Regions from separate parts of the Homo sapiens genome. Here all the other regions are linked to region 3. The links are contacts of gene promoters, found by promoter capture Hi-C in blood cells and fetal thymus (Javierre and others, 2016). All regions are on one chromosome and are shown on one strand. Each heading gives the region's core, a stretch centred on a gene start or on the middle of the fragment in contact. The rest is flanking DNA. Distances are from core to core; before and after follow the strand shown.

The links. Contacts are between HindIII fragments. The CHiCAGO score rates a contact against its expected background, and 5 or more counts as called.
Region 1: a contact is called between the fragment with the promoter of HACE1 here and the fragment with the promoter of RTN4IP1 in region 3, in 4 of 17 cell types (total CD4 T cells, non-activated CD4 T cells, fetal thymus and 1 more). The highest score is 12.1, in total CD4 T cells.
Region 2: a fragment that was not itself captured here is called in contact with the fragment with the promoter of RTN4IP1 in region 3 in 4 of 17 cell types (activated CD4 T cells, total CD8 T cells, non-activated CD4 T cells and 1 more); the score reaches 8.1 in activated CD4 T cells.
Region 4: a fragment that was not itself captured here is called in contact with the fragment with the promoter of RTN4IP1 in region 3 in 1 of 17 cell types (activated CD4 T cells); the score reaches 5.1 in activated CD4 T cells.

What each region holds. Positions count from the first base shown.
Region 1 is chr6:104,856,395-104,863,373 of GRCh38, reverse strand. It overlaps HACE1 (HECT domain and ankyrin repeat containing E3 ubiquitin protein ligase 1), which reads left to right and starts at 3,455. Exons shown (of 24, transcript NM_020771.4): 1 at 3,455-3,807. The coding sequence starts at 3,732. It also overlaps the pseudogene LOC100422315. RefSeq lists enhancers at 3,366-3,660, 3,275-3,774 and a silencer at 3,397-4,026. The HindIII fragment of the contact is 1,298 bases long and covers 3,325-4,622 here.
Region 2 is chr6:105,394,400-105,401,556 of GRCh38, reverse strand. PREP (prolyl endopeptidase) reads left to right here. Exons shown (of 15, transcript NM_002726.5): 2 at 3,630-3,704. Among named protein-coding and RNA genes, the nearest start is that of PREP, 5.1 kb to the left of the region's middle. RefSeq lists an enhancer at 2,895-3,657. The HindIII fragment of the contact is 1,576 bases long and covers 1,328-2,903 here.
Region 3 is chr6:106,627,086-106,633,860 of GRCh38, reverse strand. It overlaps RTN4IP1 (reticulon 4 interacting protein 1), which reads left to right and starts at 4,363. Exons shown (of 9, transcript NM_032730.5): 1 at 4,363-5,113. The coding sequence starts at 4,840. QRSL1 (glutaminyl-tRNA amidotransferase subunit QRSL1) reads right to left here and starts at 4,283. Exons shown (of 11, transcript NM_018292.5): 1 at 4,156-4,283. The coding sequence starts at 4,179. RefSeq lists enhancers at 4,052-4,111, 4,142-4,281. The HindIII fragment of the contact is 4,979 bases long and covers 340-5,318 here.
Region 4 is chr6:105,377,189-105,385,025 of GRCh38, reverse strand. It overlaps PREP (prolyl endopeptidase), which reads left to right. Exons shown (of 15, transcript NM_002726.5): 3 at 7,507-7,640. Among named protein-coding and RNA genes, the nearest start is that of PREP, 22 kb to the left of the region's middle. The HindIII fragment of the contact is 444 bases long and covers 3,284-3,727 here.

The DNA of each region.
Region 1 (6,979 bases), core at 2,206-4,705, 1.8 Mb after region 3:
GGAAGAGATGAACATTTAAATTGGTTAAAGCAGATTGCTCTCCATAATATGGGTGGGCTTCATCCAATCAGCTGAAGGCCTGAATAGAAGAAACAGCAAGAGGGAATTTTTCAGCAGACTGCCTCCAGACTTCATCTGTCTTACTAGCTGCCCTGGCCTTTGACTGGAATGGCATCATCAGGTCTCTTGGGTATTGAGACCGCTGGTCCAAACTGTAGATTTTGGATTTGCTAGCTTCCATAATCACGTGAGTCAATTTCTGATAATAAATCTCTTTCTCTCTCCATATATATACACACATTCTACTGGTTCTGTTTCTCTAGAGAACCCTGATATATTTTTATATCACATTTATTTGGCTAATATTTTCTATGGTATCCCTTTTTTCCATTTCCTTTTGGAAATGGTGGTCCCTTAGAAACAGCAAATAGCTGTTTTATTTGATCTTTTCAGATGTAAGAAATAAATCAGATCAAGTACAAATTGCGATCCAGGATATTTTGAGTCAGTGTTGAGAAGCTTGCCTTACTGCATTTCCCGTACAGTTTATAAAGCGTAAAGATGAAGTACTTTGGCCTTTTTTCATGATTGTCTGTTATACATTAATTTTTTTAGGGAAACTATTTAAGCTGATTTGTCTATAGCTGATTGGCTTAGTTTCACTGAATCATGCTGACAAGGATATAAACCTTGCGTTTTGTGTTTATTATTACAGATGGTGTTTTGGGGAAATGAGGATGATGAGTTTTGGTTTGTGGTTATACACAGTTGGACTTGGGTATATCTAAACTGTGGCCTCCATTTTTATTTTTCTTTAACACACTATCTAAGACCTCTATGTTTTAGAGTAAACATTGAGTTTACTCTGTTTATATTTTCTGTGACCATGGATATATTTAGATTTATTTCTACTGCTACTTTATGTTTTGTTTTTATGACCATTTTTCTTTGCTTCCCACCCATTTCCTGCCTTTTGTTGAACAGATTGTTTTTCTCTTCTCTTTCCCTTAATGCTTGGGAATCTTCAATAAAACCAATTTCCAGGAAGAAAAAAATACCAGATATACAAAAAAGAAAGTTGAAACTGTCTGGGCCACAGAAGAACCTGGGTTATCATTAGTGAAAAACTCTACGCTTTTGTTAATGGAACTTATGATACAAAGTGCCCTTTTGAAACTTCCACTTGATGTTTTTGGTGTTGGTGACAGGTGAGAAAATCTACTCTTTAGCTAATAATAATCTATAAGAAGCTGTTTAGCTGTTTTGGTGTTCTCCTGGGCAGCTTTCTTCTTGGTGTGATAAGTTGCCCTGTCTAATACGGTAACCACAAGGCACATACAGCTATTTAACTTAATTAGTTTCATTACTTATACTTTAATACAAATTTAAAATTCAGTTGCACCAGCCACATTTCAAGCACCCAGTAACCCCATTTGGTTAGTGGATGCTATTTTGGACATTGCAGATTATAGAATATTTCTATCATTGCAGAAAGTTCTGTTGGACAGGAGGTGATAAGCTGATAGTAGTACTGCAGCTTTATACATTTTGAAGCAGAGCTATTGGGAGACGGCATCATATTGCAGAATTTGGAACTGACAATTCACATCAGCATTACCTGTTCCATTATCTTCTGCTCCTGTGGTGAACAGTGACCAGCATGAGATGCAATGCCCACCATGGAGGCTGCTGGGGGCTCCTACCCCTGCCCACAAACTCCAGGCTTGGTCCTCACAGGACGTTGGAGGTAATTTATATGGAGCAACAGCCTAGAGAGCAATGGTGATAACAGCAGCTGAGAGAAGCTGAGGGGCCAACTTCTGTACAGCAGTGGGAATCCTGACTTTTTGAATAGCATAAGAGGCCAAGCAAGACTGGAACATTTTTAGTTGAAGCCAGGTTGCAAATGGTTGAGCCTGGGCTAGACTGGTCCATAACGTCTGGTATTTCTTTCTTCCTTTCCTTTTTTTTTGAGACAGGGTCTCGCTCTGTCACCCAGGCTGGAGTGCAATGGCAGGATCTCAGCTCACTGCAGCCTCTGTCTCTCGGGTTCAAGCGATTCTCCTGCCTAAGCCTCCCGAGTAGCTGGGATTTCAGAGGCACACCACCACGCCCGGCTAATTTTTGTATATACATATTTTTAGTAGAGACAGGGTTTTACCATGTTGGCCAGGCTGGTCTCAAACTCCTGACCTCAAGTGATCCGCCTGCCTTGGCCTCACAAAGTGCTGGGATTACAGGCATGAGCCACTGCGCCCAGCCTCTGGTATTCTTTTGAAACTTTGACCTCTACCACCTTGTTGCCAGACTGGTTTAGGTATCATCTGATTAGGTGAAGATTACAGAGGTCTTCCCCGTGCCTGTGGCACCACTGGCACAAATGGTCACTAGCTGGAACTGATTTAGGACGGCACTGGCAGGGAAAACACATGCCAACCACCATCTGCCCCTTCATATCCTGAATGGGCAGGTGAGACTCTCTTTCACTTGGCCAGCCAACATACATCATCAACGTACATGTGCCCATTCATTTCAGGAACAGCTTTGTCTCTTTGAGGAAGAGAAGCTGAAAAAGACAAGCCTTTTGTTTCTCCCTCACTCCAGCATCATCTTGGCACTGGTAATATATCCAAGATATATTGGTGTTAGCCAGGCTCACATTTACCCCTTTGATTGGGTTAATTTTTTGAAGTTCCAACTTCTGTTGTTTCAAGTGTTCAACTTCTGTGCAGAGCTTATGAATATGATTTTTCGCCACTGAGTTCATTTCTTCCACAATGTAGGTATCCAAATTTTTTGTAACTTACAAAGTCAAATCCTTTGGATTTCCCACTAGGCTGTGTCATCACATAGACACTTTAGCATTGTACCAAATAAATGAAAAAATTTTTTCAGGTTGTCATCATTCATATCTTCCCCAGAGCTTTAACTTTGTGCTAGGTGCCTTGTTAAGTACAGGGATACAACACAGTTCAAGATTAAATGTCCCTGCCCTCATAAAGCCGCCCGGCAGGAAAAACAACTAATTAAGCTATTGTCAAGTTATTTACAATGAAGACAAAAGCACAATATGCTTTTGGATTTGTTTGATTTTATTACTCTTTAAGTTTGACATATGAAAATACCATACTTAAAACAGTTCATGTAGGGTACCTGAAACAAAGGCACTAATACAGTACTAGAAAGGTGGTGACGGATTTAAGAACAATTGTGCCAATTTCTAATCTGTTTTATAGTAAAGTTATAGAATTGGAGGAAACTGCTCCTGTACAACTTTGGAGGAGGGTAGGAGGAGCAGGGCGTGAGAATGCCTTTCCAGAAGCTTAGGAGTACGCCCAGTCGCTGCGTGGCTTCCCGCATACTCAGCCCTGCGCCCGCGTTGGCGTGGCCTGGGCGCCCCCAACGTGACTCCGCCCAGGGCGCTCCGTTCTGCCAGCTGGAAACTACAGTTCCCAGAAGGCCACGCGAGCCCGGGAGGGACGCGGCGGCGGGGGCTGCAGGAAAGGCGCGAGCAGAGGCGGCGGCGGGTGTACTGTAGGTGGTCGGTCCGGCAGCAGCCCGGCCCCCGGACGCAGGACGTGGCCCCAGGCAGCCCTCGCAGCTCAGTGCTCTAGCCGGGGCAAGCCCGCGTCTCCGCCTGCTGGACGGGCCCAGGCGAGATGTAGGGCTCTGGGCGCGGAGGCCGCCGGTGGGGCGGCTGATCGCGGAGGATCGCGGAGGGCGCGCCGAGGATGGAGAGAGCGATGGAGCAACTCAACCGCCTGACGCGCTCGCTGCGCCGCGCGCGCACCGTGGAGTTGCCCGAGGGTGAGCCGGGTCGCGGGGCCAGGCTGGCCGCGGGGCTGGGGGCGGCCAGTGGGGCAGGAGCTCCGGCCGCGTCAAGGTCGGGTGGAAAAACTAACTGAAAGCTGAGAAAACGCCCACTTTTACTTTCCAGAGCTGAGAGGCGGCCCCGGGCCCCGAACTCCCCTGGCCCGACGCTCCCACCCCGGCAGGTGGGAGTTTTCGGGAGGAAACTGGGTTGGTGGGGGTTCCGCTGCTGGGAGGAGCGAGACAAAGGTCTCGCAACGTCTGTCGATTAGGGGTCTTGGCAAAGGGGCAGGAATACCAGCCGGAGGCCCGAGACCCGGAGTCAGAAAACATCATAATTGCGGGTCATTTAACAGTAGCTGGGGATAGAGATGATCCAAAGATACTGTTTACTTTAAGCTGCATCGGGGGGCCAGGCGGGCTTTTATTTTTGTTATTTTTTAAAATGTGGGGCACTGCCTTGTTTTGATAACAGGCAAACAAAGGGTTGTCAAACATCAAACAGGTACTCTTAAAGTACTGTATGGGTAAACACAATATATTTTTCTTTAATATGCATGCCTGCCTTCATTCTTCATTTATTCATCAGACTAGTATTGAGTGGGCTAGCTGGTAACTAGGACGCATCTGCAAAGAGGAATAAGGCATGGTCCCTGAGGATCAGGACTTTTAGTTCAGCGTGCCAGGGTTCCCTCAGGACAGGTAAAACTCTGCTAATAACAAGGAGAGAAAATAAGCAGTTTTGTTTGCAGCGTCAGGAATTCAGACATTTTAGTGGTGATGGGAGACAGCAGTGCTGCTTCTAAGAAGCTTTTGGCTCTTTATGCCCAAGTGAGAGAAGGGTTGGGAGGAGGTTGTAGCTGGTGAATAGCTTTTTTCTTAATTGTAGTAGTTTATCTTACTTTTTCAAAACTCTCTTTGAATTGCTGCTGGGTGGTTTGTAGGATAGGGAAGGAGACCTTGGCAGACGGTCATGAAAGAAATGTGGGATTGGGTACTTTGGCGATAATTTTCTTTCCTTTCTTTTATAGAGATGAGGTCTCACTATGTTCCCCAGGCTGGTCTTGAACTCCTGGGCTCAAGTGATCCGCACCCTGCTCCCCCCAAAGTGTTGGGATTACAGATGTGAGCCACCGCGCCTGGCCTGGGGATAATCTTCTTGAAAAAATGGTCTCTAGTCTCTATTTAGAATTCAGATTTTGGTAACTAGATTCTAGCTTCAACTTTTTCTATATTTTCTTTCCAACTTCCACCTTTGAATCCATTTCTTAAGTGCTACTCTTACTTATTTTTCGTAGTCGAATTATTGGTATAGCTTTATGAAGACTACATGTATAATTTATATTGTCTAGTTTGAATCCCGATATTTTTTACATAAATGTGATTTAGAAGACTTTGATAATGTTACTTGGTTTTAAAAGTAATATAGTTTCATTGTAGAAAATTTGGAAAATAAAGAAAAATAGAAAAAAATATGTCATTTCACCATCCAGTTATAAACAGTGTTACCATTGTTATTTCTTTTTCCCTCCCTAACAAGTTAAAATCATGTTGCATATAGTCTTTTATTTTGTGTTTAGAAAACATCCTTTTTTTTTTTTTTTTTTGAGACGGAGTCTCACTCTGTCGCCCAGGCTGGAGTGCAGTGGCGCCATCTCGACTCACTGCAAGCTCTGCCTCCGGGGTTCACGCTATTCTCCTGCCTCAGCCTTCCCAGTAGTTGGGACTACAGGCCCCTGCCACCAGGCCCGGCTAATTTTTTGTATTTTTAGTAGAGACGGGGTTTCACCGTGTTAGCTAGGATGGTCTCGATCGCCTGACCTCGTGATCTGCCCGCCTCGGCCTCCCAAAGTGCTGGGGGATTACAGGCGTGAGCCACCGTGCCCCGCCCCAAATGTTTTTTTTTTTTTGTATTCTTCAATAGGCTTAATGACTTCAGAATTTCATAGGATGCATGTAACAAATGTTGAATCTAAATACTGTTTTTAAACTGATTTTATGAGAAACAGCTTTGTATTTAAGACATAGTCTGCCTCTAAATACTTCCTTAGGGTTAATTCTTACAAGAAGAATATCTACAATACATTTCTAAGGCTCAACATATCAGTTTCTCAACTTACTCCTTGGAAAGTTCCACCAGCAGTCCGAGAGTGCCCAGAAACTAGAGTATTATTAGTAAAAGTAAAACTTTTCCACATAGGCAAAAATGGCATCGTTTGCATTTGCTTTTCTTTGATTATAATGTTCATTTTGTTCCTTGAATTTAATTTATCTTTGTCTCTAAGCTCTGATGAGTCTTTGAATTCTCTGAGCTTGGCTCTTTAAAGTATATCATACATATAGGAATATATATATATATATGTAAATATATATGTAAATATATATGTAAATAAATATATATATGTAAATATATATATAACATTCCTACTGATACAAATCCACATTTGTGCTTACATTTTAAGAGCTGAATGGAAACTCTGAGATCTCTCTAAATTTAGAAAATAATCAGATTTTTTTTGCTTTGTTAGAATTCAGTAATCAATAAGCATCTAATTACAACAAACTATTAAACTTGTAAACTTTTTAGTCAGCTTGTACTCTAAAATTAATTTTGTTGCAAAGGTTGAAACTATAGATGTTTGATAAACTGAGTTGGATGCTATGTTTCCTTGAGATGATGAAAACCTGAGTATTACCCTAAGTAATGGAGTGCAGGTAGTTGAGTCCTCCTAGGCAGGCCTAACACAGGAATATTCTTGAGAGAAAAAGAGGTGAAGAGTAAGAAATTACTTTAGGGATATGGATTCTTAGTAGTGTTTAAAAGTTGGAGGCCGGGCGCAGTGGCTCACACCTGTAATCCCAGCACTTTGGGAGGCCGACGTGGGTGGATCACCTGAGGTCAGGAGTGTGAGACCAGCTGGCTAACATGGTGAACCCCCGGCTCTACTAAAAATACAAAAAATTAGCTGGATGTGGTGGCGGGTGCCTGTAATCCCAGCTACTTGGGAGGCTGAGGCAGGAGAATTGCTTGAACCTGGGAGGCGGAGGTTGCAGTGAGCCAAGATCGCGCCACTGCATTCCAGCCTGGACATCAAGAGCGAAACTCAGTCTCAAAAAAAAAACACATAAATAAAAGGAAGGTGTATGTTGTTAGTGTATGTAAAGTTTG
Region 2 (7,157 bases), core at 866-3,365, 1.2 Mb after region 3:
GAAAAGACCAGAGCGCTAGTTCTGGTTCTGTCATTCACTAGTTAGGTGACTTTTAGCAGCTCTTTTACCTGTTATGGGCCTTTTTTCTCATATGAGAAATATTTGGACTGACCATAGGGCTTACTTGCTTCTGCAGTAGGAATGTTGTCATTCATTCATTCATTCATGTGACAGTCTAGCTCTGCAGTGTTCCAGACTAGTAATGGGAAGCCAGGTGACTCTCTTGGTTCTGGTTCTTGAGGATCAGAATATAAAGAATTACCCATTCTGTGGTTTGATAAGTGCAGTTTTAAGTTTGTTTTTAGAGTTACTTGTTAGTTTTTCACCACTGTGGGTGCCTAAATCCTACAGTTTGTTTATTTATGTTTGATATTTCATGAAAGGTTTAAGTGAGGATTTTATGAAGACGTCTAAAAGATTATAAACAACTCGGAAGGGTATACTGTGGATTTTAATACACTCCAGTTCCTTCTCATTAAGCAACTCATGCTAACTCTAAGCCTCGTGGCCAAGGGAATGTAGCTCTGGCCCAGTCTGGATCTTGTTGTGTGGCTCCTTGATAGCTTACGGTGGAGTATCTTTTTTTTTGCATTAAGGTTTTGGTTACTAAGCCCTAGGCTTGACTTAGGTATTTGCTTAAATGGTAGCCTTTGATTTCTAGGATGGGTTTGTTTCTCCCCAGCATCAGCTGGGCATTGCGGTAGCTCTCTGTCTCTTTCACTTGAGCACCTTCAGCCATATGCTCAGTACTCTCCTGCTGAAAGCTTTGGAGCGTTGAGACCATTTTGGTGGAGTTCTGCCTTTTTGGGCAGAAATTTGGAAGCCATGACACTTCTTGTGCAATACCATCGACCATTGCTTAAGAGAGTTGCTATCAGGAAATTCAGGCCTGTCACAGGGGACTCACACTCTGATAGAAGAGGATTTAGGGTGAGAGGAGAACACAGAAGAGGATGGGACTAATTTCCATCAGGAGGGGGAGGCATTATGTGAATTGAGTCTGGAAGTTGACCAGTTGGGTAAGGGACAAAGGACATTCCTGATCCTGTGACTAAAGTAAAGCCATAGCTATGCAGGCCTGGATTGTTGTGGAATTGCATTTGTTTGTAGGGTGGCAAGAAGGCGATTCTGACCAGACCATCAACAGATGGATAAATTTGCATGGGGCTGGAAAGATGAGCAGGGCAGGTTTGATGGGTCCTGCCTGCTGTGTGTACGAGTCTGCACTTTATCCTGAAGGCAGTGGGTGAGTTGTTGAACAGTACAAGTAAAATATCGAACAGGATTAAGTAGTACAGTACCTTATCAGGGCTCTATTTTTAAAGCTTCTTGAGGAGATCAAGAATGATTAGCAAACTTAAATCAGGTGGAAGAATTTGATTCAAGGGAAGTGGCTATAAGACACATCCACCTCATTTGTAGGGTATGGTCTTAGAAAAAATTGGAGGTGGAAAGTTGTGGCTCCTGGGATTAACTCTGGAATTGTCCTGGAGAGAATGTTTCTTGTCCTAGTTAAAAATATCTGATCAATAACTTCCATCTGCTGTAGATGATGGTGCCCGGTCTGGGCAGATAGGGCTGCTTGGTGTAAAATTCTAGATATGCCTGAATTTAGTAACATAATCCAGGAACATTTTTTAAGTGTCTATTCTGGCCCCTCTGATGAGTGTTTGGGGAAAAGGGTGGGCTGACTGCTTTAGTCCCAGGTCTGGTTCTGAACTTGATATGGTTCTGGGCATGTTACCCAGCCTTATCCCTGCTGTTGCTCCTAGAAGTGCATGATTGAAAGATGCTTTACAATTCAAAATTTTCTGATTTCTTAATGCTAGGAAAAGCAGATTGTTATTTTAAGCCTATTTTATAACCACTTCAAGGTGTGTAAAACGTAAAAGACTTGCAGATGAGAAGAAAAGATGAAAAGCTGTTGTTCGGTGGTGACAATCTGCTAAAATTTAGAGAGGTCAGAATTGAAAATTGGTAACTTTATGAAGACCCATCTGGAGAGGCTTTAGTCGGGTTTTATGTTCCTTGCTCTTGTTTTTACGTCCCTTGCTCAGTCAGTTGTTTAATGAAAATATATACAGAGTGTTCTGGCTTACCTGCCCATTTATCCAGTTGTGCATTTCCCCAGGAGTTCTTTGACCTGGCATCAGACAAGGACAGATGTGGAAAGCCCGGTGTTGTAAGGGCCAAGGAGATTGTTCTCACCCAGCCAGAGCCACACTGGAACTAGAGCAGCACTAGGTTTTCTTTAGGAAATAGCCCTTACCTTCTGGCATTGTAGAACAAAGCAAGGAGACAGATTAAAAAATTCATCTGAGATAGAGGTAGTCTTCCCAACAGCTTTATACAAGAAGCCTTAACTAGAATGTTGGAGTGGTTCAGAGACTTGATTGGCAAGACATTGTCAGTGTGGTTTCATTAATGGGGTTAATCTTTTTTTTTTTCTGAGATGAAGTCTTGCTCTGTTGCCCGGGCTGGAGTGCAATAGGCGTTGTCTCAGCTCACTGCAACCTCTGCCTCCTGGGTTCAGGAGACTCCCCTGCCTTAGCCTCCCGAGTAGCTGGGATTACAGCACCTGCCACCATGCCCGGCTAATTTTTAAATTTTGAGTAGAGACAGGATTTCAGCATGTTGGCCAGGCTGGTCTTGAACTCCTGACCTCAAGTGATCCGCCTGCCTCAGTCTCCCAAAGTGCTGGGATTATGGCTGTGAGCCACTGCACTCTGTCCTAATGGGGTTAATCTTGATGGTATCAGGTGGAGAGATTTTGTAATGATTTTTACTGCTGGATAATTTCTTTTGGCATAATCACTTGAGGAGTGGTGAAAACTGTTTCTACTTGCTCCTTCAAACGCCTTCAAGTGGCTTCTAAGGCCAGGCCTTAGAAGCTCCAGAAAGCTTCCTTCAGCCAGGTTCTACTTACACTAAGCAGTTTTATTTCTTCCAATATCATGGTAACCTGAATGGGTGATGCTTTTGCACCTTCTTTTTGTAAACAGTGGAAAAAAGCATTTCATAACAGTAAATAAAAAGGAAGAAAGGCATTAGTTTTAAAATGTTTTGCCATTGCATTTAAGTCAGCTTTTTGAACTTATGTCAATTAGAATCATTATACTACATATTAGTAACTTGCTTTTTGGCAGTTTAGACATAAAAGCAAACCTGGGCTATATTGCAGGGAGATTTTCTAATCATTGGGAAGCTCAGCGGAACAGGAGAATGAGCACGTGTGTGTTAGCCCCCTCCCTGACGTGCCCTTCTTGTGTGCCCACTGTATTGTCCACTGTATTGTGTCATTCTGTGCTTGGCTGCTGACAGCACGTTTTCAAGTTTCTTTAGCACAGTGGCAGGTCTTTGTTTTGTGTTGTAGGGACAGAGCGGTTTCCTGTTCTGACCTTTCATCTTTCTTTCCTCTCTAGCTGAAACATTCTTTTCATGAAGGGTGGCTTGACACCTTTGAGAACCTGCCAACTTTGGTTCATGTGGTAATTTGGGCAGACACGTTGCCAGTGAGCCAATTAGCATTTTTGTCCATCCCTTTCCTATTTCTCCATTACATTAAAAAAATACCAGTTTTAATTGGGGTTAGAGAGTAATTATCTAATACCTCATTTTGTTTTTTACAGGTACAGGATTATCATGGTCATAAAATTTGTGACCCTTACGCCTGGCTTGAAGACCCCGACAGTGAACAGACTAAGGTAATTTGGTTTCTAATTAAAGATAAGGCAGCCTTAGTAGCTAGCACCAAACTCTAAATGTCAGTAACTATAGCTTTTCCTTTCTGGTGTTCTCCTGTGTTTTCTGCCATGGGATGGTGAGTATACCTGTTGTTACCACTACTTTTTGTCAAATAATTTATGGGAAAAAGACAAAAGCATGGCTTAGTCCCAGAGAAGATCACCTAAGTGTTTCAGATAATGTTTATGGTTCATAGTGACACTGATGAGCTATTTTAAATGAAAATATCAGAAAGAAAACTGATTTTTGCCAAAAGAAAAAATGAAAACCTAGATAGAAATGATGTTAAAGGAAAAAATTGCCTAAATATTTTTTTCCAAAGAAAAGGAAATCTTGTATATGAAATGAATATTAGGTCATGAAAACTGAACACTGTCCTTAAATTGCTTATTGATGTCAACACAACAACAGTGAAACAAAAGCTAAGTAGTGAAGGGGCAGGGGGGAGCATTTTCTGCCCTAAAAACATAAAGCTTTCATATTCTTTTGGAGAAACAGTATTTCAAGGATCCTGCTGAAGTCCATTCAGTAATGAAGGTGGCCCTAAGTCCTATGTCCCACAGACATTTTTCCCTTTTTGGAGTGCCTAGGACTTGTCACTTATGTATACTTTTTTTTTTTTTTTTTGTAGACAGAGTCTTACTCTGTCACCCAGGCTGTAGGGCACTGGTGCGATCTTGGCTCACTGCAACCTCCGCCTCCTGGGTTCAAGCAATTCTTGTACCTCAGCCTCCCGAGTAGCTGGGATTACAGGCATGTGCCACCACACCCGGCTAGTTTTTGTATTTTTAGTAGAGACGGGGGTTTCACCATGTTGGCCAGGCTGGTCTCGAACTCCTGGCCTCAAGTGATCCTCCCGCCTCGGCCTCCCAAAGTGTTGGGATTACAAGTGTGCACCATCGCGCCCAGCCCATTTATGTGTACTTTATGTAGTTAATTAAGTTTGCTTGGTTGGGGGAATAGTGTTTCTCAAGTTCATCTTAAGTTCTTGGATTCTTCTATTTATAACCATAGTACATAATACTTAGTACATATTTGCAGTTTCTGATATGTTCAGCATCCCAAAATTTATTCGAGCTTCTTTAGAGTTGCAGGGTACGTTTCCCATTTAAAAAAAAAAAAGGTTAAATGGCACTCTAGGTAGTTTTTCAGGCCAGTCTTCAAACGCCTGTGTCTTAACTCCGCCTGTTTCTTGCAGTCCCTTTCCACCGTATATACCAGTGTTCTCTGGAGACCTGAATTCAGATTTGCCAGGAAAGCATCCCTTCCTGATGTAGAATTGCCCATCTCCCCACTGGGACAAGGAAAGGGATGGAGTGAAGAGCTTAGCCAGAGCATGATGGTATATGGAGAAAAGAGAGAAAGTAGAGGCAGGGGAGTAAACCACATGATCATCTCTTTCTTCTTCCTTTAGTCTCAAGCACTGGCTCACCTGCTTTCTGCTATCCTCACCTGTTCTTTGTGAGTAGTGTCTCTCCTTTGCCCACTGCAAAGCTCTTACAACTTCTTTTTATCCTTTGTCCCTAAAGTAAGCACACTGCTATTTTGAGATTTCCTAATGGTTTTTACTTTTATCTGCAATCCTACATTCTTTCTCTAACTCCCTTCAAGAAAGACAAAGATCTCATGGATGAGAATGGTTGATATTTGGGGTTTAATTTTTCTTTCCAGAAGCACTGGGTTATAGTAGTGGATGGGCAGAAATTCCAAAGTGAGAAACACCTGAGTATCTTTAGGAATGGTGAAGGCTGTAGCTCTGCAGGTAAGTCTGAGGGGACAGAGAACAGGTGTGGGGTTACCTCCCCACTTCATCCCTGCCATAGATTACCTTGATTGTTCAACACTGGGCTGACTGAGACAGAGGGATTGGGTCTGGGAGTGGAGAGTCACATGCACCTGCATAACCTGTACTGGCTAGAAAGCACCAGGGAAAGGATGAAGTTCCTGTGCATCTCTTGGAAAACTGTCTCTAAGGACCTGATGATTTCTTCACCTGAAGTATCGGCTATAACCTGGATTTCTACAGCCTTTGATGGTGATTGAGTGATTTAGCACTGTCAAAATGACCCAGGTTTTATCTGTTAGTGAATGTATACTTTGCTGTTCCTTAGTTGATAATGACAGGTTCGTGGATGACAAGCCACTTATTAGTGGATATCAGGCTTCCAATTAGTGGATGAAACTGCTAATTAATGATCTTATAGTCAGCACTTGATAGAAACTAAGACATTGGAGTATACACTATTTTTGTGGTATACATTTCTTGGATGGTTACCATGTGCCAGGCACTTTACCGGGAGTTCTGCATTCCCTGTTTCATTTAATTCTCAAATTCTGAAATATATCTTTTTATTTCCCCCATTTTACAGATGAAGAAATTGAGGTGCTGAGTGATTAAATATGTTGTCCATGGCTACTCAGCTAGTAAGTGTGTAGTCAAGGGTAACCCAGGTAGACGAGGTGGTTATCAATTACACATTAAAAAATAAGTAAAAGTAAAAAGACTGGGTGTAATACTTTGCAGATGCGAGCTAAAGGAATGTATTCATGTCTGTGCTTGCCATGTGCCTTTGTAGGCCCTCAGGTGTGAACCCTGGGCCAGCCCCCACTCCCATGCTGACCTGTTCTTTTTTAAAATATATATATTTTTTAAATTGTAATAATTCAGAGTACTGTGATCTTACATCCTTCTCTGACTTCATATTCTACCATGGCAATTTTTCATGTTAGAAAGCAATCTTTGCAGCCCAGAATTTTAATAGTGATACTATTTCATCAGGCAGATGCACTATATTATGCCTAATGACTTCTGTTGGAAATGATTGTTTTCAACTTTTCACTATTACAAATAATGTCCCAAATGTCCCAAACAAGCACTTTTCTAGATCTCCACATTTCTGACAATGACATGATTACTTGTTGCAGTAGCCTTGAAATCTCTTCTCCATTCTCAGGTATTTGCTTTTTGTCGTTGCTATCAAATGGGTTCCTTTTTCATTATTGATGGCATATACAAGTGTTACTGACTCTTTTGTTAGAGACAGGGTCTTGCTGTTGCCCAGGCTGGAGTACAGCCATCTTCTGGGCTCCAGCCATCTTCCTGCCTTAGCCTCCCAAGTAGCTGGGACTACAGGCGCACACCACCATGCCTGGCTAAACTAGCTACTGCTACCGATTTTATATTTATTTTGTACCTAGTTCCCTTACTGAACTCACCAAATTTTCAGTTATTTCCCTTAGATTTTTAGATACATAATCATATAACATATAATCAAATTTAGTGATAATTCTATTTTCTCTTCTATCAAACTTTGGTTATTTTATATATTTTGTACCTAGTAATTTTTTTGAACTCACAGATTTGAATAAGTTTTCAGCTATTTCCCTTAGGTTTTCTAGATACATAATCATAT
Region 3 (6,775 bases), core at 3,114-5,613:
CTTGGAACACAGAGGTACTCACTAAATGTTAGTTGAATGAATAACAGTTGTTTAAAATTTAGAATCGATTTCCCTATAGAACAATGATTAGTTTTTCTAAAGTTGAAGCTCCAAGAAGCCAAATGAATATATCATTCTTTAAACTTTAGGATTAATAATATTAGCCTGGTGCCTCACTCCTAGAAACACTGGGATCATGCCACAAAAGACAAAGGTAAAAGTGAGATTTCCTCCCCCTTTCTGAATGTACTTGGGTAAAATTTACAAATGGGAATTTTACCTATTTGGCATTTTACCTCCTTTTTGTGCCTATTCCCAGGACTCCTGTTACCATAAGCTTCCACTCACATCCCCCAAATTGCTGCCATCATTTCCAGCCCTTCTCCCTAATTCCCCGCAAATTTCCCCCTCTTCAACTGATTATCTCAATTAAGGTATTATGAAGAAATTTGAACTGTTATAATTTACAACAATGGGTGGAAAAATTGTTCAACCTTCCCAGGCATCTGTACATATTTAAAAGAGAATTAAATTAAAAGATAATTTGTATGAATTAATTAATCTCTAATTGGTAGAATTTAGGGCAACAGTACAGTGATGTGGAAAAAATACAAAGTAGACAGAAGGTAGTTTTAGAGCTGGGGAAATAACCACCAAATATTTTGCATGCTAGGCATTAATCAGTATTTGTTAAAGGAGTGATAAAGTAAAAGCAATCATGCCAAGGCAACCTCTGGATTTTCCCCTGGGTCAGCTCTCCTAAATAGTTCTTTTCTCCCCCCATGCGGCAAAAGTTGTTTTTCACAATGGCTAACTCAATGACACCAGAGAGAAGTAGCACTAAAAAAGGTAGCACTTAAGGAGCTATGACAGTTGTCAAAATCAAAATAGAGTGACTTGTGTTAAAATCCTGACAAATGGAGCCAAGGAAGGTCAAGAAGAGAGGGTTCTCACGCATGAATGCCTGATAAGAAGAACTATCACACTCCAGCTGACAAGGGATTGATAACCGAAGTATATAAGGAGTTCAAACAACTCAACAGGAAAAAATCCAATAATCAAATTAAAAATGGGCAAAAGATTGGAATAGACATTTCTCAAAAGAAAGACATATAAATGGCAAACTGGTATATGAAAATGTGCTCAACATCACTGATCATCAGAGAATTGCAAATCAAAACTACAATGAGATATCATCTCACTCCAGTTAAAATAGCTTCTATCCAAAAGACAGGCAATAATGAATGCTGGTGAGGATGGAGAAAAGTTGGATGAAATGTAAATTACTACAGCCACTATGGAGAATAGTATGGAGGTGCCTTAAAAACCTAAAAATAGAACTACTGGTTGGGCACAGTGGCTCACACCTGTAATCCTAGCACTTTGGGAGGCTGAGGGAGGAGGATTGCTTGAAGCCAAGAATTCAAGACCAACCTGGCCAACATAGTGAGACCCCATCTCTAAAAAAAAAATAATTAAAAATAAATAAATAAAAATAGAACTACCATACGATCCAGCAATCCCACTGCTACGTATATATGCACCTAAAAGAAAGAAAATCAACATAGCAAAGACATATCTGCTCTCTCATGTTTATTGCAGCACTATTCACAATAGCCAAGATTTGAAAGCAAGCTAAGTATCTACCAACAGATGAATGGATAGAGAAAATGTCCTACATGTACACAATGGAGTACTATTCAGCCATAAAAAGAACGAGAGCTTGTCAATTGCAACAACATGGATGGAACTGGAGGGCATTATGTTAAGTGAAATAAGCCAGGCACAGAAAGACAAACTTCCCATGTTCTCACCTATTTGTGGGAGCTAAAAATGAAAACAATTGACCTCGTGGAGGTAGAGTAGAATGATGGTTACTAGAGGCCTGAAAGGGTAGTAGTAGGGGTGGGAAGTGGGGATGGGTAATGGGTACAAAATATAGTTAGACAGAATGAATAAGATACAGTATTTGATAGCACAGCAGGTGATTACAGTCAACAATAGTTTATTGTACGTTTAAAAATAACTAAAAGAGTATAACTGGAACGTTTGTAACACAAAGAAATGATAAATGCTTGAGGTGATGGATACACCATTTACTCTGATGTGATTATTATGCATTGTATGCCTGTATCAAAATATCTCATGTGCCCCATAAATACATACACCTACTATGTACCCATTAAAATTTTTTTTTAAAAACAATCATAAGACTGCAAAAAACACAACCTTGCACAAAGGCCATTGCAACCTTCCACACACACGAGTACTTCTGTAAGAATGTCTGTCCAGCAACTGGCCATCCAACCTTGGACTGATGCCACCTTTGTGACTGATCCTTGTGGCCAAGGATAACTGATTCAAAATAATTTAAGTAATCCTTCTCATTCTGTCTTTAAAAACATCCCTTGCCTCAACCTTCTTGAATAGGCACATAGTTTACAATATTACACATATTCCCATTGCATTGCTACTCCAAAATAAATATTTTCTTTAGAGTCTCTTTCTGTTACTTAGATTGACAGTGGAAAAGGCAGAAAAAGGAAATAACATATTTTTATAGGTTGTATTTAATTTTAAAACAAGTTTTGGGTGTTGTCTGTTTATTTATTTTTATTTTATTTATTTATTTTTTGAGACGGAGTCTTGCTCTGCCGCCCAGGCTGGAGTGCAGTGGCGTGATCTTGGCTCACTGCAAGCTCCGCCTCCCGGGTTCACGCCATTCTCCTGCCTCAGCCTCCCGAGTAGCTGGGACTACAGGCGCCCGCCACTACGCCCGGCTAATTTTTTGTATATTTAGTAGAAATGGGGTTTCACCGTGTTAGCCAGGATGGTCTCGATCTCCTGACCTCGTGATCCACCCGCCTCGGCCTCCCAAAGTGCTGGGATTACAGGCGTGAGCCACCGCGCCGGGCATATTTATTTTTTAAAGAACAAATTTGATTCGACGCAATTTAAAATGATAACATAATAATGTATTTTGGGGGAAGAACTATTATTTAAAGCCTGTGGATTTCAATTTCTCATTATATATTACAGCTATCTATAATTATAATTCCACGCTGCCAGCTGGGAAACAAACAAAACGACAACTTCTAGGGTGGAATAAAAAGGAAGATGGAAGGCAGTTTAGGTCATCAGCGCCTACTTCTTACCAGAAATCACCTGGAGCCTCCATTAAACCATACTCCCGAACTTACCACACAGCTCTAATTAAGTCTAGAGTGGGGCATAGTTTTAGTTTCAACAGGTGCTTTATGTGACTCTGATAGCAATGGGCCTGCAGACAGTTCTAAGGTTGAGTGACGTGAACCAGGAAGCAAAAAGACCCGAATTAAAGCTATAACAGCAGAAATAACGTAAGAGGGCAGATTCCAGCCATATCTGCAAGATAGAATGAAGAGGGCTTAGTGATTTATTGGATATGAAAGATGAGGAAGAATCTAAAGGCAAATGAGATAATAGTTGTGCCATTAAAAAGAGTCTATTAAGAATTCAGAAATACCAGAGCTTTTTTAAGACGGGGGTTGAGAGGTAAGTCCTGTTACAATGATTACTTCAACACCGATTAAAGTGAATTTGAGGGTGCTTATGTGACATTTAGAAGAACTGCCCAGAAAGCATTCACAAATACAGTCTAGAATTCAAACACGACGTCCAGGACATGGAGACACGGGTTAGGAAATCACTGGTATCTTAGTGGTAGGTAAATCCTAGAGAACGAATTCTTTGAAAAAAGCCAAAAATTACTCATTTGAATTTTGCAAACTACAGTTTCGCCGGGCTTCTTAGCGACAACTGCAGCTAAGTGTCGGGGACAGAAGAGAGACTGAAGTGGCCCCGCAAGCCCCCTTTGGCAAAGCCCACTCCGAGACCATCCGGATCCCGACCTACACCAGAGCAAATGTCTAATGGTGAGAAGCCGCTTCACCACCCTACAGATCCGCGGTGCAGAGATTTCCCTGCTAAGGTCCTAACTCCTGAATGGGTACGGCGAGTACACCCGAAGAATCGAAAGGTACTTATCCCCCACTCAGTTCTAGAGGAAGCAGCGAGGTGGGCCAAGATGCGTGGTAAGGCCCAGGGACTCTTTGTCAACGAAGTCCGTTAAACTTTCCGCCCTCCCGGGGGCCTCAGCGGGCCAATTCCACTCACTTCTCGGAGGCTCCGGCCCAGCATGGTCCTCGTGCCCAGCCTGCCACCACAGGAGCCAGGCAAGGGGGAAAAAGAGGTCACCGGTCGCTAGTGATGTTACATGGGCGCAGCCATCTTTAATTGTCACTGAGCCCTTCAACACCGAGTACTTGGATTGGTTGAATTGCAGCCCGAGGAAATGATCTTTGTAGGCGATTGGTTGGCGCCGCAAAGCCATCCCGGCGGCTAAGGAGAGCGGGCAGGCAAGGAGATTCCGGGCCAGGGTCGCGGCGGCAGTCGGCAAGCGTTCGATTCTCTGGCGTTGGATCGCGAGCGGTGTCTGCTTGTCCCGCCGAGGGCTCCCAGGACAGGGCAGGGATCTAGGGGGTTTGCGCACCTGCTTTTTAATGCCCCGCCCCCCCTTTTTTTTTTAAAGTGGAGGGGGTGAAAGTGAGGGAGGAGAATGGACAGAATACTGACTGGAACGTTAATTCGAGCATTTCATATGCGAAGAGCGGAATAACAGTTCCGTATTCTTCTTTCAGTTTCTCCATTAGATTAGCTTCATTTTCGAATGCTCCGTTTTGCATGCTTAATTTTGAAACTAGCCCGTGGTTTGGCAGAATTTGACTGAATTCAGGGGTGAGAGTTTGATCCAGTCCAAGTGTATTTGAATTTGAGCACGCAGTTCAACCAGTGTTTACAATGGAATTTCTGAAGACTTGTGTACTTAGAAGAAATGCATGCACTGCGGTTTGCTTCTGGAGAAGCAAAGTTGTCCAAAAGCCTTCAGTTAGAAGGATTAGTACTACCTCTCCTAGGAGCACTGTCATGCCTGCTTGGGTGATAGATAAATATGGGAAGAATGAAGTGCTTCGATTCACTCAGAACATGATGATGCCTATCATACACTATCCAAATGAAGTCATTGTCAAAGTTCACGCTGCCAGTGTAAATCCTATAGACGTTAATATGAGAAGTAAGTTTTCAAAAGACATTGTTACCTTTTTTAAAAAAATCACTTTCATAAGGTATGCCGTTTTAAAAAATTGACTACGCTTCTTTGGTTTACATAAATGAATCATTTAGGTTTTTAACAATACCTCTGCAAATATTTCCAAAATTTTTGAAATTGCAATGGCCAGGGAATCCTTCTGGCCATTTGTATTGACAAAATATAAGCTTGATTGTTTTCATGCGTCCTTAAATATGTAAGTTCAGACTTGAGAACTGTGTCTGTAGCTAACTTTTTTTTTTTTGAGACTGAGTCTCACTCTGTCACCCAGGCTAGAGTGCGGTGGCCTGATCTCAGCTCACTGCAACCTCCGCATCCTGGGTTCAAGCAATTTCTCCTGCCTCAGCCTCCCGAGTAGCTGGGATTACAGGCGCATGCCACCACACCGGGCTAATTTTTTGTATTTTTAGTAGAGATGGGGTTTCACTATGTTGGTCAGGCTGGTCTCGAACTCCTGACCTCAGGCGATCCTCTGCCTCCGCCCCCTAAGTGCTGGGATTACAGACGAGCCATTGCGCCCTGCCTATGTTTGTAGCTAAATTTCTGTCCAGGGAACTTTGTGGTATTCTGAGATCCGTCACAGGCTTCGGAAGTATAGTTGTTTCCTAGTCAGTTTAGAATTTATGGGGTTTTTTGTTTGTTTTTGAGACAGAGTCTCACTCTATCGGCAGGCTGGAGTGCAAGGGCGCTTTCCTGGCTCACTGCAACCTCCGCCTTCCGGGTTCAAGCGATTCTCCTGCTTCAGCCTCCCAAGTAGCTGGGACTACAGACATGCGCCGCCACACCCAGCTAATTTTTGTATTTTTATAGAAACGGGAGTTTCACTGTGTTGGTGGGAGGCTGAGGCAGGAGAATCGCTTGAATCCGGAAGGCGGAGGTTGCAGTGAGCCAAGAACGCGCCCTTGCACTCCAGCCTGCCGATAGAGTGAGACTCCATCTCAAAAAAAAAAAAAAAAAAAAAAAAAAAAGCATTGAAATGACTTTACTGTGATTGTCTCATGAAGTCTACGTTTGTATTCTTTGTTTTGAAGTAGTAATTGCTACTACCAGTTGGGCATGCCGTTTTCCTTTATTCTTTTTATATTAGGCTTGAAGAGAATTCAGTTTTTTATAAGATATGTCTTTTAGTGGTAAGTTTTACTCAATGATCAGCATGTTTTTTCATCTCCTTTGATTGTAAGTTCTTTCAAGATTGATCCCATGCTTTGTCAACCTGTTTCAGTGCTTCACATACGCAGTTGTCATTCAGTCACTATTTCTATGCCTTTTTATATTTTTGTTCTGACTTAAGATAACAAACTTAAATTAGCAGTATTTTATCTATGAGTAATTTTTACATTTTGTCTTCGTTTAGGTCTGTTAGCTTTTTATTTCTTTAAATGCACATGCGTAATTCATGCCGTGTACATTTTCATTTAAACAGAATGGCTGTATCTAGACTTTTCTTGGCTGCTGTTTAATAATATAACACTGTAAAACATTTTACTTTTATATAGTATTCTTGAAACATCTTAGTTTTTTATGACTTGAATGGGTAATATTATTCGCAAGTTATCCTCTTTTTTTTTTTCTCCTACCTTTTGAGGATATTTATTGTCATTGCAGAAGATATCTGAAACAGTAGCT
Region 4 (7,837 bases), core at 2,256-4,755, 1.2 Mb after region 3:
GCTGTGTTAGGACACTTTATTACTGGTACCTGAATCCCAACTCAGACCAGCTCACATAAAAAGAGGAGCTGAGTGGCTCACGTTATTGGGGTTCAGGGTATAAGTGCCTTTAGGCACAGTCTGATCCAGGAGTGCATGTGGTATTTTTGGGAACCTGTCTTTTTCTCTTAGGTCATCTGCTTTTCTCTGATAATTTTATTTTTCCAGCAGCCACTCCTGTGTGGCAGAGAAAGATGGGTCTTGTCTCTTTGGGTTTCTCACAGTCCTTGTAGCCCCAAGTGTCTTAAGTTGAGATAACTTCTCCCTTCAAATACTCATCTCTGTCCCTAAAAAAGGATTCTGATTGTTTTGCCTGGGTTTACTACTATTACTATTTTGTTGACTATTGCCTGTGGGTTAGAATTGATGGAAAGACTTTGCTTATGAAAATGAACAGGGTTTACTTATATAAACAACGTGGAAGGGAGTTAGCATAGTTAGAATACAGACAGAGGTGTCTGTCACATTATCTATGACAGATGGAGGTACAAGCGAGCGGTACCAAGAATCCTCACTGAGAATGCTCAATTGCAGATGATACGATCTGATGGAGAAAGAGGGTAAACCTCAAACTTTCTGAAGGTATAACTGTCACCGTTCCAGCCAGATGTTCCTCATCAGTCACAGTGTGATCACTGCCCTTCGGTACCTGGCATAACCAAGCATGAGCACTCAGTCTCCCAAGCCTGCTTCCTGTACACTCCTGAATTCAGTAGTGCAGGACTGGAAGAGGCTGGCTCCCTGATGGGTGAGTCATGCCAGCAAGCCCTGAGATGAGCCGCAGCCTCACCTGCTTGAGGTCCTGCCCAGCCGTGGTCTGGGGGAGGGACATTCTGATTGGCCAGCAGCGGTCACACCCTTTCCCCAACTATCAGTGGGACTTCATATGGCACCAGAAAGAAATAGATGTCAACTCCAACAGTGTTTGCCACATCCCATGAAACTTAATGTGTGATAGTCTTGTTTTTCTTATTTCTTCGTATTTTCTAAGTAATCTTGTTACAGTTTGGATTTCCTCATTGATACAGAATTATTCAGGAGAGGGAGGATATGAGTGTGTTTAATGTCCTCACGATCAGATATTTAGTTAGGTTTGGATTTGAGGTGCAAATCACCTCTTCACCAGGTTTTTGGTCAGGAAAGTATACACCAAAGAATGGAGCCTAATGGGGTTAAAATTTCAGTTTTCCCTGGTCATGACGAGTATTGAGAACAAGGCTTGAATATCAGGTCGGAGTGACGGTTTCTGCTTCCTCCCTAATTGATAGTAACTAGTCCCAGTGAGGGAACGAGTTGATTTACCCACACGGGGACAAGCAGAGAGGTGGAAAGAGGCCTGACAGGCTTCTAGAAGGCTCCGCCTAGTCTGCTGATCATGTGCAGCAGGAAGCTTACTATGAGCCCTTTTCACCCAAGAGCAGATGGTCCCAGAGAGAAGAGATGGGCCCACTCTGGGTTTTTTATGTTAAAGTTGAGCCCAAAAGATTTTGGGCTCTCACTGATTGAACTAGAATATTTCTCCACCTTGAGAATGAGTAGGGGGTTGCTTGTGGGCCAGGAAAAGAAAGCACTTCATGTGGTGAGGTTAATGGCATTGTGGTCAAAACTGTGACCTGAACAAGCTTTTCTTTCTGGGGCTTAAGATTCCCCCTTTGTTGTCTGATGGGCTGCTGATTTTTGTAAATATTGAGTAAGTCCTGGAAAATTACGAGCACTCTTTTTTTTTTTTTTTTAATGGTAGAGATTCCTTGGCATAGATATTAGCCTTGGAAAGTACATTATTCCAATCTTTTATTGTTTCCATTTCTGGACGTGTTTCCTGAAAAGCAGCTGCATCTAATTCTCTTTTGTGCATGACCTACCTTGACTGTCCTGCCCTCCTGGCCCTAAGTCCTACAGCCTCAGGGTGAGCGCCTCTTGGCTGCTTTTTGATGGGGCTGTCCCTGTACTTGGAGAGTCATTTCCAAATTCCAAATTCTGCTAAAGTGAGAGGGGATCCAAGTGTGCCGCCCATGCCTTTCACTTAGGCTGGGATTATGGTTTTTGCCACTTTCTCCAGAAGCCCCTGATAGTTGCTTAACCAAGTCCTATATCTGTTATTTGTAACAGATGCTCCTCAAAGCCTGTGGGATGTAGATAGCACCACTCTTAGTTTTCATTGGTATTTCAGAAGAGGGGAGGTTGATACCCGGGCCTGAGCCAGTCTCTACCTGGAAGTCCCTCCTGGTCGTCTTGCCTGCCTGCCAATGGCACTTGCCCCAGCCCACCCTGCCCTGCCCTGGAAGTAGCTTCCCCTTTATTTGTTCTCCTCTAGCACATATCTTTATCTTTCATTCATCTTGTTAATCACCATGGTGCACATTGTAGTGTTTTGTATAAATATTTATTTAATGAGTAATTCTAGGCATAATTTTTATTCATTTATGTAAGAATTGTAAAAAGATGAGTTTTTTTTAAGTGAACAGTATTTTTAATTTACACTTCCATTTAGAAAGGGAAAAGTTAAGGCAATCAGTAAGTGAGCCTGTATCTGTATTTCGTAAGTCAATTTTTCAAATTGACAGGTGAAAATTGTATATATTTAGGTGTGTAGCACGTCATTTTGATATATGTAGAAATTGTGAAATGGCTAAATCAAGCTATTTAACATATGTGTAATTACCTCACATACTTTGTGTGTGTGTGTGTGTGTGTGTGTGTGTGTGTGTGTGTGTGTTGAGAACGCTTAAAATCCCTCTTAGCAATTTTCAGGCAGTTACCATGTTGTACAATAGATCTCTTGAACTTATTTCTCCTGTCTAACTGAAACTCTGTGTCCTTTTACCAACATCTCCCCCAACCCCCGCCTCTGGTAAACACCATTTTACTGCTTCTGTGAGTTTGACTCCTTTAAATAAAACATATAAGTGAGAGCATGAGGTATTCATCTTTCCGTGCCTGGCTTATTTCGTAGGACTGCAGTATTTTGTGTATTAAAATAGAGTACATGAGGGCACTTTGAAAAAAATTTTCTGAAGACATTAGGAGTAAAGGAATCTCAGCTCCCAAATTAAGCCACCCCTTTCCAAATAGCTTTTCTTTTTCTTTTTTAAATTGCAGTACGAACACTTCACATGACAGCTACCCTTGTAACAGATTTTTCTGTGCACAATATAGTATTGCTAACTATAGGTACAGTGTTGTACAGCAGATCTCTAGAACTTAATGATCTTGCATAACTGAAGCTTTGCTTTGCTTTTAAGCTTTCTAATAGTCAAGGCACATGAGATATAAGTAAGATTTCTTAGTTTTGAGCAGCTACTCTTTGCTAGGAAAATGTGTTCAGATTCATCTATGGATATAAAATCTAAACTGTTGACTCTCTTTAGAAGCTCAGCTGCGTGCATCAGGGCTTTCATATTTCAGTTATTTTAATACATCCTAGAATGAGACTGCGGGTACTGAAACTCCTTGAACAACAAGGAATTTGTGTTTTCCTCACCCTGCTTCCTTATCACCATGTAACACTTCCATTTTCTTTTTCTTTATTTTTATTCTTTTTCTCCCTTTTCCCCAATTTTTTTTTCTAATATTTAGATCAACCAAGATGATATACCTGTTAAATACATAAATGACCAAGAAGGCATTTCCCTGGTTAAAATATCAGAAATATTATTGGCATTTATGTAACCCTAAATTTAACAAAGCTTCTTTACAGAAATTTTCTACCACCTTCGTGAAAAGGATTTGCCCGAGTTATAAAGATGTGTGTTATGAAAAAACTTGAGACTTTTAGGAATTTGGACACTCTGGTTTTACATCTAGATATTTGACTTGGAAGAGTGCAGTCTTTAATGGTCTATTTAAAGTAATTAGCTAACATTTGTGGGTAGGAGGTGACAAAATTGGATGTACTAATCCTAGAATTATTTGGTAGCATTTTTATGCCTGGCATAACAGTTTTATGAAAACTTTATATGTGAAAAGCCAGTGTGTCTGCTTCAGGGTGAGATGAATTATGTTGCAGTAGTTGTAATTATACCATGAGACATGTGAAAGAAGCAAAGCAAAATAGAGAAACAGCTGGAGAACACAATTCTGCTTTTCCAAGGAAAATGAACTGAGCAATCTGTTGAGCAGCCTCTGACCCTTGGACCCACCGTGGGCCTAAGTGCAGCCTCATGCAAATCAGAAGGATCAGGGAAATGACATCTTCAGGGTACCCTCCTTAGAGAATCCCTCCGTGGAAGTGCAGGAGCCAGCCAAGACCCTCAGCATGCTGGGGTCTTGTGTGGAATCCTTCTTAGGGCTCTGACTAGAATGTTCTGGTGAGGCCCTCTGGGAAATAGCCAAAACTGCAAACTAACATGTGCTGTGCCCATTTTCTCTGTTTCCACTCCCATTATAATGGTTGTTCCTGCCCCTTTTAGAGACCAGCCATTCCTCTTGGCCTTGTCTCTCACCCGAACCACTGTCCCAGCCTCCTAACTGGCCTGTCTGTCTCCACTTTTGCTCCCCTATAGTCTGTTCTCTGTCCAAAGCACGGTAATCTTTCAAAAAGTAAATCTCCTTACCCAATCATGGCTTATTTGCACTTCGATGAGAGATCGAAACATCATATCTGCCTACCAGGTGCCGCCTGCTGTAGCTCATGTCTGGTCGTCTGGCCTCAGCTCATTCCCAGCCTCACTCACCTCCTTACTCTTCTTCACACCTGCCAAGTTATTCCCCCTGCCAGGACTCCCACACCTGCTGTTTCCTCTGCCCAAAACATTCTGCCCCACCTTGCATGGTTGCTCCCTCTCAGTCCTCAATTTGAAACCTCCTCAGAAGGGCTTTTGTGACCACCCTGCTTAATTAGGTGCCCTCTTTCCCAGTGATTTTCAAGATCTGCAAGGAATGGCTGGTTTGTAAATTTCCAAACCATTTGTGGATTGAGGTTTTTCCAAACTATAATGAAGATGCCATAGTAATGTCAAATTGCCATAAAGGTTTTCAGCACTCACTCTTGTTTTCTGCACTCTTCTCATTGTGGGCTGGTAGCAAACAGTTCAGGCCAACACTGATCTGTAGTTGACACTTTGGGTATCAAGCAGCATTGCTCTGCTGATTACCCTGTGTATGTCCTTAGAACCAACCATTCTGCAACCCTCTGGCTTTTTGTGGGTGTGTCCCCAGTAGCATGAGCTCCGTGATGACAGGGATTTTAGCTTGGACTTGTCACTTATCCATCCACAATGCCACGATCAGTGTAAACACACACACAAGATTTGTGTTTAGTCCACGTGGATGCTTCAGCTCCCTGATGTTCCTACCCAGCACAGCCCAGTTCATGCAGAAGAAAATCATAGGAGGCCCAGGTTGCGTCTTCCTTCTTTCCTGGGTGGATCTGCTTCATCTCCACATCCTTTTTCAGTCTCTGAGTGATTTTGCTAACTCACTGCATGACCTTAACCAGGGGACTTTAATACCACTTGCCTCCATCTCCATATCTGTGAAGTAGGCATGGTGTTTTCTTCCACTGTAAAATGAAGTAGTGCTTTTGGACACACTTGGTGATCTCCAAAATGCTCCCCTGGGTGGTTTCTCAGATAGGCATTGATTTTATAACTAAAAAGCAAAATCCAATTTCCTCCTTGATGTTTTTAATGAGGGAAAGTGCAGTCAGCAAACTTCCTGTAAAGGGCCACATAGTAAATATTTTAAATGTTGCAAGCCACATAAGTCTCTGTTGGTTTTTCCCCTCTAGCTCTTTGAAAATACAAAAACCATTCTGATCTCCAGAGCCACAGGAAAGCGGGCCAGGGCGAAGATTGCCAATCCCTAGTGATAGTTGGAATTGTATTTCTGTGGGACTCAGTAAATTTTATTTTCTGTTTAAATGAAATCAGAAATGTGACCTGTAACAGTTTTATTTTTCTTGAACTGGTCCTCTTGCAAAAATGTTAATTACTGTATTCATACTTTACATCCCTTGTCTCTTGTTTTTAAATGCATTGTAATCAATGAGCTTTGGAACAGTTTGTCTCACCACAAAATCATGGTTCTGCAGAGTGGGATTGGTGGTTTTTGTAGGGGAACCCAAAGCATTGTTGCACATTTGAAGACCATTGTGAGCTTGGATGGGCCCTTAGAGTTTGATGATATATCCAAAAGTGAACTCTGATAATAATGCATTTTTCCCTGCCATTCAAAGTATATTATGGTCTTAATTTCCTGAAGTTTTTCCCTGATGATTTACTTATTTATAGACATCTGATGAAATCTTCTATTGAATTTAAAGCTGATACAATGTTCTTGTTTCATTTCTTGCTAATAGCCAGATGTGAATTACTAGTAGCCAAGTTTTTATGGTATTGTCAACTTTTTAACTGGTTAGTTACAAATAGGGTGTGCTTGGATACAACTCATCTTTTGTAAAAGCCCCTTTTCCTGCCTTCACTACCAGTATTTCCTGATGGCCATCTCTTGCCTTTCTTATAAACCATGTTGCTGATATTCTTCTGCAATGCCACTTGTTTCAGGTGTTTTTTGTTTTTGTGTGTGTTTTAAGACAGTCTCCCTGTGTCGCCCAGGCTGGAGTGCAGTGGCACGATCTTGGCTCACTGCAACCTCTGCCTCCCGGATTCAAGCGATTTTTGTGCCTCAGCCACCCTGAGTAGCTGGAATTACAGGCACCCACCACCACGCCTGACAAATTTTTGTATTTTTAGTAGAGACAGGGTTTCGCCATGCTGGCCAGGGTGGTCTCGATCTTCTGGCCTCAAGTGATCCACCCGCCTCAGCCTTCCAAAGTTCTGGGATTACAGGCATGAGTCACTGCACCTGGCCTCCAATGTTTTTTCAATGTTCTTTGGTTGCAAATTTTAGCAAAGTTCTCTGATTGAAATTAACATGGTAGTAGGTCTTACAAAGCCAAAATCGATAAAATAGCGCCTGGGTATCCCTAACTTTCTCTCTTTGACTCTGACTTCTCTTGGGATGGCCAGGTGCTGAATAAGAATCCCGGAACCATGGCACTGCGTAAATGCAGATTATTGGCAGTGTGTGATCTGAGCTACAGTATAGTGTGTTTGTTAGGAGCGTGGATCTGGGAGCCAACTCTGCCATCTGCCACTTCCTAGCTGTATGATGTCGGGCAACTTTTTAACCACTCCAAACCTCAGTTTCCCAATCTGTAAAGTTGGCCTAATAAAAGGACCTTCTCCATAGGATTATTGTGAGTTCTAAATAAGTTAATACTTGCCCTGTAAGCATTAGCTGAGTTAGTACCATGTAAGCATTGGTTGTTACTACATATTAATCAGTCACTTGGCAGGAGCTGGGCAGGTATGAAGAAGAGTAAGGAGGTGAGAGAGGCTGGTAATGAGAGAGAAGAGGCACTGGCTAAGAGACAAAGTGTGCTTTTTCTGATACATATTAGTGGATAATATTTCACATGGAAAATTTTATATTTAACTTGCTTTGTCCATTTTAATTTCTCCACAGGCCTTTGTGGAGGCCCAGAATAAGATTACTGTGCCATTTCTTGAGCAGTGTCCCATCAGAGGTTTATACAAAGAGAGAATGACTGAACTATATGATTATCCCAAGTATAGTTGCCACTTCAAGAAAGGAAAACGGTGAGACTGCTTTTACTGAATTTCCTTTTTATTTTCAAAGTAAATGCTTTCTTAAATTGTAAAATACAAATTCCAGATAACTTGTCCTTGTATAAGATTAATTCATTATAAGGAATTAATTTCTATGCCTGAATATGAGAGTAATATTTTTGATCTATTAGGTATTGTCCAAATTGTTAAAATAATAGTTAAGAAAT